Regions from separate parts of the Homo sapiens genome. Here regions 1, 3, 4, 5, 6 and 7 are each linked to region 2. Evidence: promoter capture Hi-C in 16 types of primary human blood cells and fetal thymus (Javierre and others, 2016). All regions are on one chromosome and are shown on one strand. Each heading gives the region's core, a stretch centred on a gene start or on the middle of the fragment in contact. The rest is flanking DNA. Distances are from core to core; before and after follow the strand shown. Region 1 has its middle 16 kb from the start of ANOS1. Region 2 holds the start of PNPLA4 (patatin like domain 4, phospholipase and triacylglycerol lipase). Region 3 overlaps PUDP (pseudouridine 5'-phosphatase). Region 4 overlaps STS (steroid sulfatase). Region 5 overlaps ANOS1 (anosmin 1). Region 6 overlaps PUDP (pseudouridine 5'-phosphatase). Region 7 overlaps PUDP (pseudouridine 5'-phosphatase).

What was found. Contacts are between HindIII fragments. The CHiCAGO score rates a contact against its expected background, and 5 or more counts as called.
Region 1: a fragment that was not itself captured here is called in contact with the fragment with the promoter of PNPLA4 in region 2 in 1 of 17 cell types (M2 macrophages); the score reaches 5.6 in M2 macrophages.
Region 3: a fragment that was not itself captured here is called in contact with the fragment with the promoter of PNPLA4 in region 2 in 1 of 17 cell types (naive B cells); the score reaches 5.6 in naive B cells.
Region 4: a contact is called between a fragment that was not itself captured here and the fragment with the promoter of PNPLA4 in region 2, in 4 of 17 cell types (total CD4 T cells, naive CD8 T cells, non-activated CD4 T cells and 1 more). The highest score is 7.5, in total CD4 T cells.
Region 5: a fragment that was not itself captured here is called in contact with the fragment with the promoter of PNPLA4 in region 2 in 1 of 17 cell types (M2 macrophages); the score reaches 5.1 in M2 macrophages.
Region 6: a contact is called between a fragment that was not itself captured here and the fragment with the promoter of PNPLA4 in region 2, in 1 of 17 cell types (erythroblasts). The highest score is 5.3, in erythroblasts.
Region 7: a contact is called between a fragment that was not itself captured here and the fragment with the promoter of PNPLA4 in region 2, in 1 of 17 cell types (naive B cells). The highest score is 6.2, in naive B cells.

Annotation. Positions count from the first base shown.
Region 1 is chrX:8,746,342-8,749,041 of GRCh38, forward strand. No RefSeq gene overlaps it. Among named protein-coding and RNA genes, the nearest start is that of ANOS1, 16 kb to the left of the region's middle. The HindIII fragment of the contact is 4,113 bases long and covers 1-2,700 here.
Region 2 is chrX:7,926,154-7,928,853 of GRCh38, forward strand. It overlaps PNPLA4 (patatin like domain 4, phospholipase and triacylglycerol lipase), which reads right to left and starts at 1,260. Exons shown (of 7, transcript NM_004650.3): 1 at 1,133-1,260. LOC107985675 (a long non-coding RNA gene) reads left to right here and starts at 1,347. Exons shown (of 5, transcript XR_001755784.2): 1 at 1,347-2,700. RefSeq lists enhancers at 1-15, 678-907, 1,138-1,377, 1,398-1,447, 1,788-1,867. The HindIII fragment of the contact is 3,086 bases long and covers 1-1,888 here.
Region 3 is chrX:7,115,576-7,118,275 of GRCh38, forward strand. All of the region lies in intron 1 of PUDP (pseudouridine 5'-phosphatase), which reads right to left. Among named protein-coding and RNA genes, the nearest start is that of STS, 31 kb to the right of the region's middle. RefSeq lists enhancers at 279-780, 455-564, 781-1,280. The HindIII fragment of the contact is 1,488 bases long and covers 591-2,078 here.
Region 4 is chrX:7,161,326-7,164,025 of GRCh38, forward strand. All of the region lies in intron 1 of STS (steroid sulfatase), which reads left to right. Among named protein-coding and RNA genes, the nearest start is that of PUDP, 15 kb to the left of the region's middle. The HindIII fragment of the contact is 1,202 bases long and covers 731-1,932 here.
Region 5 is chrX:8,723,070-8,725,769 of GRCh38, forward strand. The region is part of intron 1 of ANOS1 (anosmin 1); the gene reads right to left. Among named protein-coding and RNA genes, the nearest start is that of ANOS1, 7.7 kb to the right of the region's middle. The HindIII fragment of the contact is 964 bases long and covers 842-1,805 here.
Region 6 is chrX:7,051,027-7,053,726 of GRCh38, forward strand. The region is part of intron 3 of PUDP (pseudouridine 5'-phosphatase); the gene reads right to left. Among named protein-coding and RNA genes, the nearest start is that of STS, 95 kb to the right of the region's middle. The HindIII fragment of the contact is 1,338 bases long and covers 759-2,096 here.
Region 7 is chrX:7,091,138-7,093,837 of GRCh38, forward strand. All of the region lies in intron 2 of PUDP (pseudouridine 5'-phosphatase), which reads right to left. Among named protein-coding and RNA genes, the nearest start is that of STS, 55 kb to the right of the region's middle. The HindIII fragment of the contact is 5,428 bases long and covers 1-2,700 here.

The sequences.
Region 1 (2,700 bases), core at 87-2,586, 820 kb after region 2:
AAGAAGTCATTATTCGAAAAAGATGTTTGCACACACATGTTTATAGCAGCACCATTCACAATTGCAAAATTGTGGAACCAACCCAAATCAATCAACAAGTAGATAAAGAAACTGTGATATATATATGATGGAATACTATGCAGCCATAAAAAGCAATGAATTAACAGCATTTGCAGTGCCCTGGATGAGATTGGAGACTATTATTCTAAGTGAAGTAACTCAGGAATGGAAAACCAAACATTGTGTGTTCTCACTGATATGTGGGAGCTAAGCTATGAGGACGCAAAGGCATAAGAATGAGGCTGGCCTTCTGTGGAGCTCACTGTGCCTGTCTGCAGGGAGGGAATGCCTTTCTTTATAGTTTTTCACTCTCCTGGGAGACACGGATTTCAGGATCAGCATTATATGCATAATGTTCAAAATAAAATGGGCCAAATGAGATCACATAGGAGTAAGTGTGGGTATAAAACAGCTATAAGGAGATTTCAGAGGATTTTAAAAGGCACCACAAGCTAGAAAAATAGTTACTACAATAATATGTCTTTCCTTATATCTACAGGTTGGTGAGCTCTGGAATGTGCAGACGGGTAATTTGGGCAAATTTTAAGTAATGCAATATTGGGAAGTAATATGTGGGAAATCTCTCTGTGTCAGTCATTTGAGGTTTTCTGCTACTTTTATTGAATTGTATTCTTTTATCTCTGTTAAGACTCATTTACTTTCCAATTACTTGGGTGAGTTTCAGGAGAGACTCCTGTTAAATGTGCTTTTTAAATGCTATTGGGAGACTATTCAGTAATATGATAAGTCAACTTCTGTTTATTTCTAACTTCGTAACTAATTCCGGGAAAGTTCTGAGCACATGGTGGGGAGAGACGGAGAGAGACGGAGAGAGACAGAGAGAGAGAGAAAGAGAGAAAGAGACGGGGGTGGAGAGAGAGAGAGAGATAATACTTGCACCACTGTAATTAAAGTGAAGGGAAGTGAATAAGAATCCAAGTAAAAAAGCAGACTGTTTAAGTTCAAACCACAGCTAATTATTCTTCTTTTTTTTTTATTATACTTTAAGTTTTAGGGTACATGTGCACATTGTGCAGGTTAGTTACATATGTATACATGTGCCATGCTGGTGAGCTGCACCCACTAACTCGTCATCTAGCATTAGGTATATCTCCCAATGCTATCCCTCCCCCCTCCCCCCACCGCTAATTATTCTAAAAGCGATTTTAAAATTCTCAATCCACAGGCATTTTTATGTGCTGAGTTTTATTGTTGTTGTTGTTGTTGTTCTTTGTTTGTTTGTTTTTTGAGATGCAGTCTCGCTCTGTCATCCAGGCTGGAGCGCAGTGGCGTGATCTCAGCTCACTGCAGCCTCCGCCTCCTGGGTTCAAGCGATTCTCCTGCCTCAGCCTCCTGAGCAGCTGAGATTACAGGCAGGTGCTACCACATCTGGCTGATTTTTGTATTTTTTGGTAGAGATGGGATTTTTCCATGTTGGCTAGGCTGGTCTTGAACTCCCAGCCTCAAGTGATTCGCCTGCCTCAGCCTCCTAAAGTGCTGAGATTACAAGCACCTTGCTCGGCAAGTGCTGGTTTCTAATTACAGATAAATTATAATGGCTTTGATTTAGACTTGCAATCTCACACACTAACAGCATGAAATACTACATAAGGTGAACTATTATTATTATTATTATTATTAGCTTGCCTCTCTGATGAGTCACTGAAATATTCACTATAAAGAAATGGACTTAGAACTTGAAGGTTGCCACAAAGTTGTCAAAACAAAGAAGGAAATACTTTTATTATATTCCAAAACTTTCTTTTCTGTTTTTTAATGTGGATTTTTCTTTAAGTGAAAGAAAATCTTCTTTTATAAAATATAAACAAGTACATAGGAACTTATGGAGTAATGACAGCTGTTAAATTCTGGTTTAAGTTGGAGAATTGTGTCATTTTATTTGTGGATACTTTTAGTGTGGATAAGATAAATCAACTGTGGGTGGTTTTGAGTTCCTGCATTATTTTATTTATTTATTTATTTTGAGACGAAGTCTTGCTCTGTTGCCCAGGCTGGAGTGCAGTGGTGCGATCTCGGCTCACTGCAAGCTCCGTCTCCCGGGTTCACGCCATTCTCCTGCCTCAGCCTCCCGAGTAGCTGGGACTATAGGTGCCCGCCACACTAATTAGCCCGCCGGGCTAATTTTTTGTATTTTTAGTAGAGACGGGGTTTCACTGTGTTAGCCAGGATGGTCTCGATCTCCTGACCTCGTGATCTGCCCACCTCGGCCTCCCAAAGTGCTAGGATTTCAGGCGCGAGCCACCGCGCCCGGCCTACATTATATCATTTAAATGGGTGCTGCTCAATGCTAAAAACTATTAGGAATTTTAAAATGCAGAGGCCTAGGCCCTACTGCGAGACATCCACATTTAATTGGTCTGGGGTGGCTTTGGTGTCAGTATTGTTTAAAGCACCTTGGTGATTTGAATGCCTCCAGGTTAGAGAATCAACAAGAAGAATACTTTTCCCTAAATTCAAATAGTAGATTTCAGAAAAGTCCTGGTAATTGGATTAAAATAATGGGAAACTCATGGTTTCTCAACATCAACCCCATTGACGTTTTAGACAGGATCCCTCTTCGTCTTGGAGACTGTCTTCTGTGTGGGATTTTTAGCAACAACCCTGGCCTTTCACCACTAG
Region 2 (2,700 bases), core at 10-2,509:
ATGCTGTAAGTTGGAATAGTTTATCCCACATACTGTGTAGTCTTATGTTGATCATCGTTCCAAGGCTTTCTTCTAACATCATTCTCTGTTTTAAGCACAGTGGTTTCAATTAATTCTAATTAAACACAAGAATCTTTCAAGGAAACCCTTTCTTTCCCTCCTCACCTTGACCCAAGTCTTATACATTAAAACAAAACAAAACAAAAACATTCCACATTTATTCGGTACATAGATTATGAATCTACGATTTAATTACTTGGCAGGAAACAGACGTATAAATTCCAGTTGACAAGGGCATTTGGTCTTTTCTCTTGACCCTTTGAAACGTTTTGCGGGTGGGGGCGGCACTACCATTATGAAACAGAAAATTATTAGAGACCGTATCAAATTCCAAATGAACAATACATTTGTTCTTGGTAAGTGTATCAGAAGATTTCAAATACAGTTCCCTACTCCCCTTCCCAATTTCTATTGTGAGCACCCATGCTTTTATGAACGCCAATACAATTACTCAGTAACGCAATAAGCAATCACTCAACAATGCAATACATTTCTTTGCCAAGTATCTCAACACAAACTGAGGTCATGCCTGGTGAAGGCAATTTAAGGCTCTATGAAATGTCAGCCACGCCACTTTATACTTGGAACACATCTAAATACAAAATTACATGTTTTCCTATGCCTCAGTGCGCACAATTTGCCCAAGTGAATGAAATTGTGCCTCCACAAGGCTGTCCATTCTGAAGGTCTCAGGGTTTCCTTGGGGGCCCAAGGGCCCCATTCAGGGACCCCAAGATGAGGCACATTACAGGGCCTCGAATTTAGGGACCTAAGACCGCCTGTTCCTGATGCACCCGGCCAGGCCCTGTGAGGGCAGGTGGCTCGGCCGCCGCAGGCTGCGCTGGCGTCCGCGTAGGCTGAGTCCCAGTCATCGATCCGGGGTCAAGCCCCAGTTTTGATTCCACTTCTGCAAATGGGGACGGGAAGGGGGTTGGGTGTGTAGCAACCAGGCGGCCAGGCCCAGCCAGCACAGGCTCAGTGCCCTCCCGCGGCTTGGAGGCCGGCAGGGCCGGGGTGGTCCCCGCATCAGTCCCGCAGGAGCACACCCTTGCTGGGCCCCAGGGCTCCGTACCAATGCAGCCCCGGGACACTTCCGTGTTGAACGAGTCCCTTTAACCAGATGGCGGGGCCGGGCCGTCACTCAACGCCATTCCGCCACCAAGGCCGCGCTACGCTCTCCGCGAGCCGGCCCAGGAAAGTCCTGCGGCAGGGGTTGGTACCGCCTCCCGCGCAGGTATGTGACGTCATCGCGCCGACGAAGGCGCCCGCTAGGCCCCGCCTGCTCTATTTAAACTTCTGGACTCAACCTGGCCGCTAGACCGGAGCGTCCTCCAGCGCAGGCAAGGATTCCTCGTTTAGAGTCATGTTATCTTCGAGTACCTAGAGAGACATTTTAACCCACACCCTAGAGAGGCGTTGTAATCCTTACGTGTCTTTTAACGCTACTTGGCCCTTACCTGCGAGCAACTGACCTTTAATAATCCTCATTTTCTGTGCCCCGGAAGTGCCTTACCCTCTTCGCGTCTGTTTCCCGGAAGTGGTTCTTCTCCCTCTCCACCCTTTCGCCCGCCTGGGCGGTCCAGCTGCCCCTAGGGGCCAACTCCAGCGGCTATTTTGGGGCTGGACATCCCGCAGCTTTTCAAGGCGTGCCTTTGGTTTTTTTAAGAAGTGCTATCTAAAGGAAAAGCTGGACTATGACTCTGGGGAACTTTCATATCCTCAGTTGACCTTAGGCTGTGTGACCTTGAGCAGGTAGCATAACCTCTCTGAGTTTCCCGCGTGCCTTATGTGCAGATTGAGATGCTAAAATGAGAGAGCTAAATTGGAAAGCTTTTTCCACATAGGGGGCCGTGAGCAGGTGGCTGTTTTGTCCTCTGGCACCTTTGGCTCAGACTTAAGCAGCTTCAACGACCGCCAAGATGCCTGCCATGCCCACCAAGATTTAAAGGACTCTGATAATTCTTTCTCTCCCCAAACGGTGTTTTCCTTATCTAATCCTAATAACCAAGCCTGGAGGAATCCCTGACTTCGTGATTGAAGGCTCTCCAGGTCCCCTAGTTTAAGGGCAGAGATTTACTTTCTCTGAGGCTACAAAGGAGCGTCTGCGAGAATGTCTCTACCTTAGACAAAACAGGGAGGAGGGGTGGAGCTCTCCAAATTGCCTCTGGTTTGGGCTTTTTCTTTCTGTTTTGGTGTATCGTCTCTGGCCAACAACACCTGTGAGTCCTTGATGTGACGATTAGGGAAGATGTTTTTAATTCACATAACTATTCTTTAGAGAAAATTGATCCTGAAACACCTTATTGCCTTATCGTAGAATGACTGCATTACTCAGAATTCTTTACCTCTACCGGAATTTAGTGAAGGGAAGGCACAACGTACATTAGGAAAATACAGGACACACTCCAGTCCTTAAACCTTCCACAATCTTCTAGCTCTTTAAGGTCGAGTGTGATCCTCCCCAGAACTGCATCTTCCAGGAAGCTCATGAGAAAGGAAGGATCCCAGGTCCCATCTCTGATCTGAGTCGGCATCTGCGTTTTAACAGAATCCTGAAGCAGTGGTCTAACTCCTTTGGTGGTGTTATTGTTTGCATGTATACCTCCAAAATTCACATATTGAAATACTAACCCCCAAGGT
Region 3 (2,700 bases), core at 85-2,584, 810 kb before region 2:
GTTTCAGCCTTCTGAAATGGCTAGTTCAGACAGCTGGGGTTGCCTTGGGCTTTTTTTGACCTTCTTAACCAGCCAAGCTTACTTAGTAATCCCTAGAACCCTAACAGCAAAAACTGTTCTGAAAGGTCACTGTGGGCAACAGCTGTTTCACATTGCTCTCTATGCTCCTGGCACACAGCACAGAGCCCAGATCCTGTCGGCAGCGCTATTTCACTTCACTCCCAGAGTCACGTCCACGCACGTGGCTGCAAGGGGGAGCTGGCCTAAGCCTGCAGTGAGGAGTGAGGCCAAACCACACCACCTCTTTGCATGGACTGGAAGAGTCTATCTGCTCAAAGCATCCTAGTGTCATAGGAAGGCATTATTACATTTGCGGGAAGACAAGAGAAGCCCACGAAAAGACCAGATTCTGGTAAATGAGGAGGCACTGAGTTAAGTTATAAAGATAACTGTCCATGTGTGAAGGTAAATGAAAATCTCTTCAAATGAGAACGAGCAGAGGCTATTCATTCAGAGATTGCATAGCAAGAAAGTTGGACACCAGCACTTGCCTTTGGCAGAAGCTCAAATGCAGGTTGGGGAGCTGGGAAAGCTTTACAGTTGGAAAAGGGAGGCTTCAGGTGGGCCCTGACTGGAGGCTGTTGTGGGGGCTGGGGGTGGCTCACTAGAAGTGAGGCATCTCATGGGATTGGCTTGGGAAACATTTTGGCTCTCTGGCTGGCGGTGGAAACTCTGTAGGCATGCCTGAGACAATCAAGTCCCTTAAAGGAGATAAGTCATTGAGCTGGCCAAGGACCCTGGGCTGCCGACTAGACTCATGGGATGAGTGTGGCTGCCCTCCTACCCTGGCCTGCCTCCTGGTTTCTTCCCAGCCACCTTGGCCATCCGTTAGCAAACCCCTAGCATGTTCCCAGGTGGATGGTGGGCCAGGCACTTCTCTCTGGGCCCTGGGACCCCTGCCCTGCTCAGCCTCATTCACCATTCTATATTCCACAGGCACTCCTGCATCCCTTACCACATGCCCTTGCCCAGCCTTTGGTAATGACCAATCAGAATGAACTAATCTCCATGCCCCCTCTACGCCAAAAAGACCCTGCATCAGGTCAGTGTTTATGAGGAGAAACTGCATTGGTCAGTAATAGAGTTTATATATTTATTCCCTCCCAAATCTCATGCTGAATTGTAGCCCTCAATGTTGGAGGCAGGGCTTGGTGGGAGGTATACTGATCATGGGGGCAGATCCTTCGCTTGGGCCATCCTCCACTTGGTGATCAGTGAGCTCTTGCTCTGAGTTCACATGAGAGCTGGTGGTTTAAAAGTGCATGGTACCTCCCCCCAACTCTCTCTCTGGCTCATGCTTTTGCCATGTTACATGCCTGCTCCTGCTTACCCGTCCACCGTGATTGTAAGCCTCTTGAGGACTCCCCCGAAGCAGCTGCCACTATGCTTCCTGTATAACCTGCAGAAATGTGAGCCAATTAAACCGTTGTTCTTCTAAATTATCTAGACTCAGCCATTTCTTTAAGGCAATGCAAGCACGGCCTAATACAGAAAATTGGTACCAGAAGTGGCGTGTTGCTACAAGGATACCTGAAAATATGGAAGTGACTTTGGAATTGGGTAACAGGCAGAGGTTGGAAGAGTTTGGAGGGCTCAGAAGAACACAGGAAGATGAGAGAAAAGTTGCAGCTTCCTAGAGAACAGTTAAATGGTTGTGATCAAAATGCTGATAGTGATATGGATGGTGAAGTCCAGGCCAACAAGGTCTCACATGGAAATGAGAAACTGAGAACTGGAGGAAAGGTCACACATGTTATTTCTTAGCAAAGAACTTGGCTGCATTCTGTTCATGCCCTAGGGTTCTGTGGAAGTTAGAACTTCAGGGTAATCCTTTAGGTTATCTAGCAGAACAAATTTCTAAGCAGCAAAGCATGCTATGTGTAACCTGGCTTCTTCTAACAGACTACGCTCAGATGCAGAAGCAAAGAAATGACAAAGTTGGAAGTTATATTTAAAGGGAAGGTAGAGCAAAAAAGTTTAGGAAATATGCTGCCTGGCCATGTGGCAGAGAACGAAAAAGCTTTTTCAGGAGAGGAATTCAAGCAGGCTGTGGAGCAACCACTTGCCAGAGAAATTTGCATATCTAAAAAGGAGGGAAGTGCTGACACCAAAACAGTGGGGGAAAGGTCTCACAGGTATTTCAGAAGTCTCCAAGGCAGCCTCTCTCATCACAGGCCCAGGGGCCTAGAAGAGAAGGGTGGTTTCCTGAGCCACGCCCAGGGCCCAGCTGCCTCAGGACACTGCTCCCCTCATCCCCACTGCTCCTGCTTCAGCCAGGGCTCAAAGGGAGCTCATCCTGGTGCTCTGTAGGCACACAAGCCACACGCCTTAGTGGCTTGCTTTCTGTATAGCCTACAGAATTGTGAGCCATTTAAACCCATTTTCTTACAAATTACGTGGACTCAGGCATTTCTTTATAGCAATACAATATGTCCTAATACAATCAGGAAACTTTAACACAGTCTGGAGAACTGTCACACTTATGTGGGCTTGGATGCTGACATATTTGGGTTTTACCCTTTGCTCTATTCTCAAGGCCTGCCATTACCAGATCTAATTCATGTATATATTTTCTTATCCCAATGTATAGCAGAAAGACACTGTGATTTGCAGGAAACACTCCAAAACTATAGAACAGTG
Region 4 (2,700 bases), core at 82-2,581, 760 kb before region 2:
CTTTTTACAGTATACTTGTGTATGTAAGATCATCTCTATAAAAGAACTAGGTTAACTGAAGAATGGGTATGTAGTTCAGAGATCAGTTAGTGTTTTCTGAAAATTTATATTAATTGCAGAAAATGAACATCCAAAAACAATTTAACTTTTGCAATGCATGCTGTACATAATCTAGTAATTATGAACCAACCAAATGGATGATTTTTTCCCCAAAGAGAGATGCTAAGAAATTCCTTTGATCTCTTTCAAGTAAACTCTCTGTTATCTTATGAGCAATTATAATGAATTAAGATGTCCAGTTCATGCTTACTTTACTTCTTATCAGAGTATCAACATATTTCATGTACACATCAGTTTTGTCTTCTGTGCCAACCCGAGCAGATTGAGTTGGAGGAATGTTAGAAATAATTTTCACTGAAAATAATATCACTAAAAGTGTTAAAATTATTTTACAGAAAGTTTGCTCCATTTCGTGTCATTTACTGTAGGTACTCTTTGTCTCAAGGAACACATGACAATGCTTTACTGAGTACCCTGTGAGTTGGTATCTATAGTGACATTACTATTTGCCAACTGAGAAATTGCCCCATATTCATTTATAATGAGATTATCACATCACAGCTGATATCAGGAGACAGAAATCTAAAAGCTTTCAGTGCATGAAAAAAAGATAATAATGACTCCTCTTTGCATTAAAAACCTAAATAGTAGATGTTGAGCATCCCTTAAAAGCTTGAATAAAATAAGCATTAAGAGTTTATGGCCAAAAGTCCTAAGCCATGCTTTCTAGACCAGGTTCTGTCACCATTGTTTTGTTTCCATCTTGTCTTCTCCTTAAAATTCGAGCCTTGGTTGGAAATTAACCCCTGTCAAACTTGGCCACTGAGTCAACAAGCACTTCCCCAGTGCCCCAGGGACACAGGTAACAGAGGATGTGGCAATGATGAAGCAGAAGTCCAGTCTCACCTCAGGTGTTTTCTGTGAAGGAAAACAAGCAGTATAAATACTGCAAGTACCAATGTCAATAATAATTAAATGCTTATTATGAGAAGGAAGTGCAGGGCAGAGACTTGGCACAGGGCTAATTAGGAGAAGCACCTTCAACTGTGAGGTCTGGGAGAAAGCCCAGGGGGATGGAACAGAGATGGCTTAGGGTCCCGGGTTCCTCTTGGCGGTTCCAAGACTGGGAGATTTTTAGTTTAGAGATAGAGACTGGGACGTTCTCTTTCACAATGAATTTGTCTATCCAGCGATTCCCCACGGAGGCACTGTTGGTACGTGGGGCTGGGTGATTCCTTGCTGTAGGGGCTATCCAGTGCGTGGTAGGATGCAGCAACCCACAATATCTCCAGATGTTGCCAAATGTCTCCTGGTAGGTAAAATCATCCTCCCGGATGACAATCTCTGGCCTGAAATAAGCATTTAAAATGTGTAAGACTGGCCGGGCGCAGTGGCTCACGCCTGTAATCCCAGCACTTTGGGAGGCGGAGGCAGGTGGATCACGAGGTCAGGAGTTTGAGACCAGCTGGGCCAGCATGGTGAAACCCCGTCTATACTAAAAAAAAAAAAAAAAAAAAAAAAATTAGCTGGGCCTGGTGGCGCGCGCCTGTAATCTCGGCTACTCAGGAGGCTGAGGCAGGAGAATTGCTTGAACCCGGGATGCAGACGTTGCAGTGAGCCGAGATCACACCACTGCACTCCAGCCTGGGCGACAGAGCAAGACTCCGTCTCAAAAAAAAAAAAAAAAAAAAATGCATGAGACAGAGCTTACTTAGAGCAGGGTTTTTCAACCTCAGCACTGCAGACATTTGGGGCTGGGTCACTCTCTGGTGGTGGCTGTCCTGTGCACCATAGGGTGCTGAGCATTATCCCTGGGCTCCACCCAGCAGATGCCAGCAGCACCTCCCACCCACTGCTAAGTTATAACATCCAAGCTTGTCTCCAGATATCACCAGATGTTTCTTGGGTTGCAAAACTGTCTCTTGTGTAGAATCACCAAATTGGAAACAGATAAGAACCGGCATCTGGGATCACAGAAGAGGTGTGGAGATCACTGTTTTGAGTCTGTTCTCAGCTCTTTTTCCAGCTGGCCAGGCAGCTCTGTGTTTTTGCTAGAGCTTGTCACAGCTGGTTTGACCTGGGTCATTGGGCAAGCATTCCCTGGGTCTCAACTTGTCACCTCTTCTGCCTATGAGGAAACTCTGGAGCTATCCACATCCAAGTGACTTGGCCAAGGTTCTGTTCAGCATAGGTGGCTTTTCCAGTACCTGACTTCTCAGCCCACAGGACTTTACCACTTCTTTTCAAATCTTGCCTTCAGAAATGTAGGTTTGCAATCCTTTGTCCATAACCAAAAATAGAAAAGAAAAACATTGAAAACCCAGAGTTTTTCTAACATACTTGGCAGTGACACCAGCTCGAACCAACTAACATAAAACTAACATAAAGTGAAAAGTCTTCATTCATCCCACAGATTGTGGGTATTCATTTTGTTTCACTGCAGAACTTTTTTTAGATAGGGTCTCATTCTGTCACCAGGATGAAGTGCAGTGGCTCGATCTCAGCTCACTGCAATCTCTGCCTCCTTGGTTCAAACAATTCTCCCACCTCAGCCTCCCCAGTATCTGGGACTACAGGTGCCCACCATCATGCTCAGCTAATTTTTTTTTGTATTTTTTGGTAGAGACGGGGTTTTACCAT
Region 5 (2,700 bases), core at 74-2,573, 800 kb after region 2:
AAGGACTTAAATCTAAGACCTGAAACTATAAAAATTCTAGAAGATAACATTGGAATAACCCTTTGAGACACTGGCTTAGGCAAAGATTTCATGACCAAATACCCAAAACCAAACACAACAAAAACAAAGATAAATAGGTGGGACTTAATTAAACTGAAGAGCTTTTGCGCGGCAAAAAGAACAGTCAGCAGAGTAAACAGACAACCCACAAAGTGGGAGAAAATCTTCACAACCTATACATCTGACAAATAACTAATATCCAGAATCTACAAGGAACTCAAACAAATCAGCAAGAAGAAAAAACAAGCAATCCCATCAAAAAGTAGGCTAAGGACATAAATAAACAATTCTCAAAAGAAGATATACAACTGGCCAACAAACGTATGAAAAACATGCTCAACATCACTAGTGATCAGGGAAATGCAAATAAATCAGTACTTTTTAAAGAAAGAAACAGATTCAGCACCTATGCAGACAGTGATTTACATGAAAACAATCTACAAATGCTACATTTGTTCCTTTCTGGGCATTTTTTACATATTGGCTAATAAGTATAACTATTTTTATCCAACCCTCTTTACCATCAGGGAAAATGTCTCCCCTCACCTCTTTGAAACCATACACAAATTACATTTTTAAAATATACAAAGGATTGCAGGTCCTGGAGGATGTAGCTTTTTTGGGGTGTAGCTCCACTAGTTGCATGCTGAGTAAATCCAATGTTGGCTGATACCTGAACTATTGGGGCTCCCTTGCCTTCTTCCTAGACCTGCCATGTAGTACTGTCGTTAATGATGTCCTCTCACTCCAGCTACTGCCCACTTACCCTACAGCTATTTCAAGCTTGCCTGAACAGTGCATATTTTCACATTTCATTGAATTCTCAACAATGAGGGAGCATGATGTGCTTACCTACTAGGTCCAAGAATTGAAATCTTTTTACTGAAGTCATCAGGAGCTAGAAACTAAATTCAAGTAACAGAAAATCTTCTGAATCTGTTTCTTTATTTAAAATGATGTTTAAACTTTGTATACCCTCTCAATTTTTTGAAGGATAGTAAATGAAGTCTTAGCTGAGAGTGTAAAAGCTAACTTATATTTTTACTTATTCTACCTACTAGCTTGAACAGGTCATTTCTATAAGAACCGAGTTGTCTGATCAGAAAAAACAAAAGTGTTGAATGGAACCACGTGTTTCTGAAGGGAGGTGTCTTAGACTGGGTTTCCTAGAAGCAGAGGTTGAAATGGGGTTTCTCGGACATGAGGTAATATTGGGGCGGAGAGAAAAGCTCTCAGTAGAAGAGGGAAGAGAGGAAGCAGGAGAAGGCAGAGATAAGACCTGTGTGGGGATGGGCTCTCAGCCAGAGCCCTGCATAAGCCTGATCCCATGCGATGCTTTTGGGCATGAATTGCATTACAGAGCTGATTCCAGCAGGGGGCTGACCTCCTATATCCCCTGAGCAGAGAGCCAATCGCCATGGTCTGCGCACATCAAGGGAGGAGGATGCATGACCTTGCAAGCAAGATGGTGCCCATCGGCCAAAGGTTATTCCCTTAAAAGGAAGCAGCTGTAAGCTATTAGCAGCTGATACAGGAGCCGGGGGATGGTGGGGTAAGAGGCAAGAGGTCAACAACTGCATCGACTGGAGAAGGAATTGGTGTATATCACCTCTTTTAAAATATTTCAGAAAACTCCCCAAAATGACACATTTTCCTAAGATGATGGTGCAAAGAGAACTAAAATGTCATAACTATTCATTTTATCAATCAGCTCTGGTCATGGGGGCAACCTAATGCTAATCTAAAGCTTGAAAGAGTTATGGCTATCTTTGATTAATGTAAAGAGGAAAAACTAGGTCATACTTAATAAACGCCATATGTTGATAGACAACCTGCTTTCAAAATATGGAGGCCAGGGTAAGTTAAATGGAAAAGTTGAAAGGTAGCTGACTTCAGAACCCTAAGGCTCTGTGAGCTTAGATGATGCCCAGAAATTATGTTATTCTATACTTTACACAAGGCACTGCAAAGAGACATTTTCAGTTATTTCTATTCCTATTTCATAAATAAAAATGCCTTTTGATAATATGGATATGCTTCATTAATTGCTGTCCCAAACCTCTCTTCCCCCCAAAATGGTATGAGAGTCAGGTTTCTGGACAGCAATACCAAGTAATCCATTGGAACTTCTCCATTTCTGACTTAATACAAGCAGTACCCCCTAACACTTTCATAAGTCTCTCTACCTTAACCCCAACATTTTATACTCATTCACTGAAACATACCTGGTAGGTGAGAACATGAAAGGTGGTGAATTTATTTTGAATAAATATGATAACCTCCAAATTTATGATTACATTTTTAAAAGTGGGAACACTTGCACCAACAATATTACCTTTTTAATTTAGGTGTCCAAATACACACATGTGGATAAATAATATTATATACAGATATATATATATATACAGATATATATATACAGATATATATATACAGATATACATATATACAGATATATATATACAGATATATATATACAGATATATATATATACAGATATATATATACAGATATATATACAGATATATATATATACAGATATATATATACAGATATATATATATACAGATATATATATACAGATATATATATATACAGATATATATATACAGATATATATATATACAGATATATATATTT
Region 6 (2,700 bases), core at 178-2,677, 870 kb before region 2:
CCACTTTATTATTGGGATTACAGACACAACACCATCCAAAACCCGTGGTCTCTTCATTCAGATACCCACATTGAAAATGGGGTGTTTCCTACTGGCAACTGCAAAGATATGGAACCAACCTAAGTGCCCATCCACCAATGAGCGGATAAAGAAAATGAGGCATATATACACCATGGAATACTACTCAGACATAAAAAGGAATGAAATAATGTCTTCTGCAGCAACATGGATGGAGCTGGAGGCCATTATTCTAAGTAACTCAGGAATGGAAATCCAAATATCGTATGCTCTCACTTATAAGTGGAATCTAAGCTATGAGGATGGGAAGCCATAAGAATTCTATATAATGCATTTTGGGGACTAGCGGGGTGAGGAAGAAAAGACTACATACTGGGTACAGTGCACACTGTTCGGTTGACGTGTGTGCTAAAATCTCAGAAATCACTGCTAAAGAACTTATCCATGTAACCAAAAGCCACCTGTACCCTACAGACTATTAAAATAAAAATTAAAATTAAAAAGGAAAAAAATAAAGTACTAAAAGAAAAACCAATACATAAAATGGGGTGTTTGTACACTGCATTTATCAGTGAGCTCCTAAAGGTGCCACCACATTGACAATGTTACAGTAAGTTTCACATGAGGGCTCCCTCCAAAGGAGACACCCCAGAGCCTGCTCCATAGTATAAACAAGCATAATCCACATGTGCTATCTTCATATCACCGACCCTCTCAGGAAGACATACACTTAGGAAGGAAGCTTCTTCCCTGCATTCCTAGAATGGCACACACTTCATGTGAAAACAGATGTACTGATGCTTTTTAACTGAGACTCTGCAGAGGCCCAGACATCTGTAAGGGAAGAGAGGTCCTCGCCATGGCGACCTATGCTGAGGAGTCTCCCCTGCTCTTCTCCACATGTGGCCTAGAACTCCAGGAGTTGTTGAGGTGGGGCCTTTCAGCTCTCCACTCATCTCTTCTTTGTCTCCTTTGTCCCTCTGCATTTTCTTTTTTTTTTTTTGGTGAGACAGAGTCTTGCTCTCTCACCCAGGCTGAAGTGCAGTGGTGCGATCTTGGCTCACTGCAGCCTCTACCTCCCAGGCTCAAGCAATTCTCATGCCTCAGCCTCCCAAGCAGCTGGGACTACAGGCATGCATCACCAAGCCGGCTAATTTTTTTTTGTATTTTTCAGTAGAGACAGGGTTTCACCATGTTGGCCAGGCTGGTCTCCAACTCCTGGACTCAAGTGATCTGCCCGCCTCGGCCTCCCAAAGTGCTGGGATTACAGGTGTGTGCCACCACACCTGGCCCCCTTTGCCTTTCATTATGAAAATGTCCTCTTCGGCTCATCACCAGGTATATAGCAGCGACTCAATGCACTGGTGTCCTGGAAAGGGCTCACGGAAGCCTGATGCCAGGTCTGAAAGAGAAGCTCTGCATTCTTTGGCGTTTTCAGTAGAAAACACTGAAACACACACACAGTCTTAACTACTAGTGGTCTGTGCTGTAGCCAGCACAATGACTTTTTTCTTTTTCCCTCCCTCCCTTTTTCTTTCCATTACCCCATTCTTTCCTTCAATCTGGGGCTAAAATATCATATTAGCCAACTTATCCCAACAGGGCTGAACCCTGGATTAAGTGAGTTAATCCATGTGACAATGGAATGTGAATGCTACCTTACTTTCACAGAGGGAACTTGGTTGGCCCAGCTGTTTCGGTTTGCTTGGAACTGAAGGGTCAGCTGTGGGGCAGGATGTTCCGTGCTACACCCTGGACAGTCCCAGGCAAGCCACAGTAGTCCGTCCCAACACCTCCCTTCCAACAGCCTCTGATGCCCCCTGGTTTCTTTCTCCTGTGAGACACTGGTCACCGTAGGACGCGAGAAGAAATGACTCCACTTAGACTGTCCAAGTTGGTTTTCTCTGTTATCTCATTCAGTGACTACCTGTTCATGATATTTCTGCCCTTGCCTTTTTAAAAGTTATGACTTGATTGTATTCTAAATGCCCTCCACTGTTTTTATCTGGGACCAGAGATAGGCACTTAAATGTCAAATGACATTTCAAAATATCCGTCACCTTCTCCGGGGATTCTGAAGCTTTGTGCAGGGTCCACCTGTGAAATGTGGACTGGGGTAGAGGAAGAGATGGATTATCCCCTGGGGTAACACTGCTTGGCTAAGTTGTGAAAGCAGCTTTTATTCTCTATTTGCGTGAGGCTGCTTCCAAGGAGCAAGACAGGTGTGTGGGACGGGAAATCAGTAGCTGACTGTGGCTGTTCCCAAAGAGATAATGGAAGGCACCCAATACACCTGCACTCACCTAAAGGGGGTCATACAGTTTTGCTGTGTCCCTACTCAAATCTCATCTTGAAATGTAGCTCCCAGAATCCCCACGTGTTGTGGGAGGGACCTGGTGGGAGACAATTGAATCATGGGGGCAGTTTTCCCCATACTATTCTCATGGTAGTGAATAAGTCTCACAAGATCTGATGGTTTTATAAGGGGAAACCCCTTTCGCTTGGCTCTTATTCTCTCTCTTGCCTGCTGCCATGCAAGACATACCTTTCACCTTCTGCCATGATTGTGAGGCCTCCTCATTCATGTGGAACTGTGAGTCCATTAAACCTCTTTTTCTTTGTAATTTACCCAGTCTTGGGTATGTCTTTATCAGCAGTGTGAAAATGGACTAATACAGGGGG
Region 7 (2,700 bases), core at 149-2,648, 830 kb before region 2:
ATTCTTTCTGGAGATTATATGATCTCTGTAGCCAGCTGTCAATGGTAAATAAAAAAGAAAGGGAAAGATACCGAGGAACAGTATTTTGTTCTGATCAGGACACACTTAGTTCACCACTTGACTGTGGTAACTCAGGTCTCCTAGGTTTCACTAGAATGTGGAAAGCTCTGGAAACTCAAAGGGAAGGCACATTTAACTGGACTTTTTATTCGTTCTTTTTAAGACAGAGTCTCACTCTGTCACCAGGCTGGAGTGCAGAGGCATGATCTCAGCTCACTGCAATCTCTGCCTCCCTAGTTCAAGCAATTCTCCTGCCTCAGCCTCTCAAGTAGCTGGAACTACAGGCGCCCGCCACCATGCCCAGCTAATTTTTTTTGTATTTTTATACAGACAGGGTTTCACCATGTTGGCCAGGCTGGTCTCGAACTCCTGACCTCAAGTGATCCACCTGCCTTGGCCTCCCAAAATGCTGGGATTACAGGTGTGAGCCACCGCGCCCGGCCTTAAATGGACTTTTTCTTTCATTGGCTTTCTTAAGATCTGGAGAACCTGACCAACTATCTCAAAATACTGACCATCCTCAGAAAAATATTTGATTTTGTGTCTTCTTTGATTTGCCAGAAAGCTGCTTACAGTACTAATTTCATTTACTTTGAATCACTTTTCGGGTTGCTACTTCTAAGGATCTATCACTACAAAATAAATGTATAAAACAGCTATTTAAATAGCTTATGATTAATAGCCAAAGGAAAAGATACAAACTAGGAAATGTTAACATAATAGCTCATTCAATTTTCCTGATTTTCTACTATAGCTCTCTACGTGATTAAACAATGTAAATTCTCTTACCTAAACAAGCACAAGTATTATAAAACCCAATCTGAAGAAGGCATTTAACTCATCGTAGAGAATGCCATACCTGAGGTTCTCAATAAAAGCAGCCTGGTAATGGCCTACAAGGCCAGGGTCAAACTTCTCCTTCTCCGTTTCACTTCTCTGAACCTGTATCCTCACCTACATAATGCAAATAAGAACAACCCTGACTACGTCACAAAACAAACATAAAAGTGCAAATGATATAAAGATTGGGAAAGAGTTTCAGTTTTCAATTTCTTCACAAATAAGAGGTAACAGAAAAGTATTCTTCTTTTAAATAACTCACATCAAAAATGGATTCATTTTGCCTTATGCATTCAACAATAAGACAAAAATAACAGAATACTTTAAGTTATAGTAATCCCAAACTAATTTTAAAGTTCTTAACCTAATTTGTGGACTACTTACTATAAAATATCATAGTTTCCTATTGTCAATTTTTTTTTGCAAATATTTCATAGAAATTTCAGTTTTATGGCTAGAGCTTTGTTGTGAGGAGTTTCTGTTGATGGTGTCTCTGTCAATAGTCTCAAATATTAAAGTCTTGCTCTTACAGTCTACTCTCTAAGGAATCCTCTAGAAAGGAGAGAGTAAGACTTTCCCTGTATTCTTGTGTCTACCATGCTATGGAGATGAAAGGTCCCACCGTATAGAAGTGGTGCAGAAACCACCTCAAGAGAGTAGGCGTGGTGCGAGGTACTCCTGACCTCACTCAAACCTGCCCATGACACTGGGCCCAAGTCCCCATGACCCAGGTGCTTGGGGCGTATGAGAGACACCTGTCTTCCCTGATAAGAGTGTATGATTCTGTTGGGGATAAGGAGATGCACTTATCCACAACACTTATGTGAAAAACCACATTTGTGTCTACTCACTACAGGCTTTCTACCTCATCTGCACAGGAGCTTTGCCAAAACACAACTCCAAAATCCTTGAATGGCTTCTTGCCATTTGAAAAAGAATAACTATTGTTGTATGTGGTAAAACACCTACAATATAAAATGTACTGTTTTAATGATTTCTCAGTGTACAATTCTGTGGCATTCAGTACATTCACATTGTTGTACAGCCATCACCACCATCCATGTCCAGAACGTGTTCATCTCCCCAAGGTGAAACTCTGTCCCCATTAAATGCTAAAACCTCCATCCCCCTCCCCCAGCCCCTGGCAATCACAATTCTACTTTCTGCCTCTATGGATTTGACAACTCTAGGGACATCATACTGAAGCAGGAGAATAGGGTCTGGAGGCAGGGAACCGAAAGCTGATTCATGCTGACTTCCCAGAACTCAATCAAAAGGAAAACCCCAACTTTCCATGCCCAAGTAACAAAAGGACTGGATGCTATTCCCTTTGCAAGCCTCTCCTACCTTCTCTGTGTGGCAGATGGAAAACTGAAAGTATTTCTCATTGGTTGCTTTGTGCAACCATTTCTACTACTGGCGCCAGGAGGCTGTGAGCGGGTGCTGGGACTCGGGGCAAGCTGGCAGCGCTCTACACCTGGATGCTCACCTAAAAGTCACTGCCCTCCCCACTCCCTCGTCCTGACTGCAGTGTGCAGAGAGTGCTGGCACCTAACACCCCTCAAAGCCTGTCTGTGCAGCTCCACAGTGCTGTCCTATGCTGTGAGCACACCCCTCCCGGAGGGACAGTGACTTGATTCAACCCATTGTGGTCATTTATCTACTCATTTCCTCTCCTTTGAATCGAGAGGTCCTTGAGGTAAGGATTTCTCTTGTTCATTATCCTATACTCCTAAAGACTTAGAAATCCACAGGAGAACCACCACACATTTAGAAACAGAAACTGGGCCAGGTGTGGTG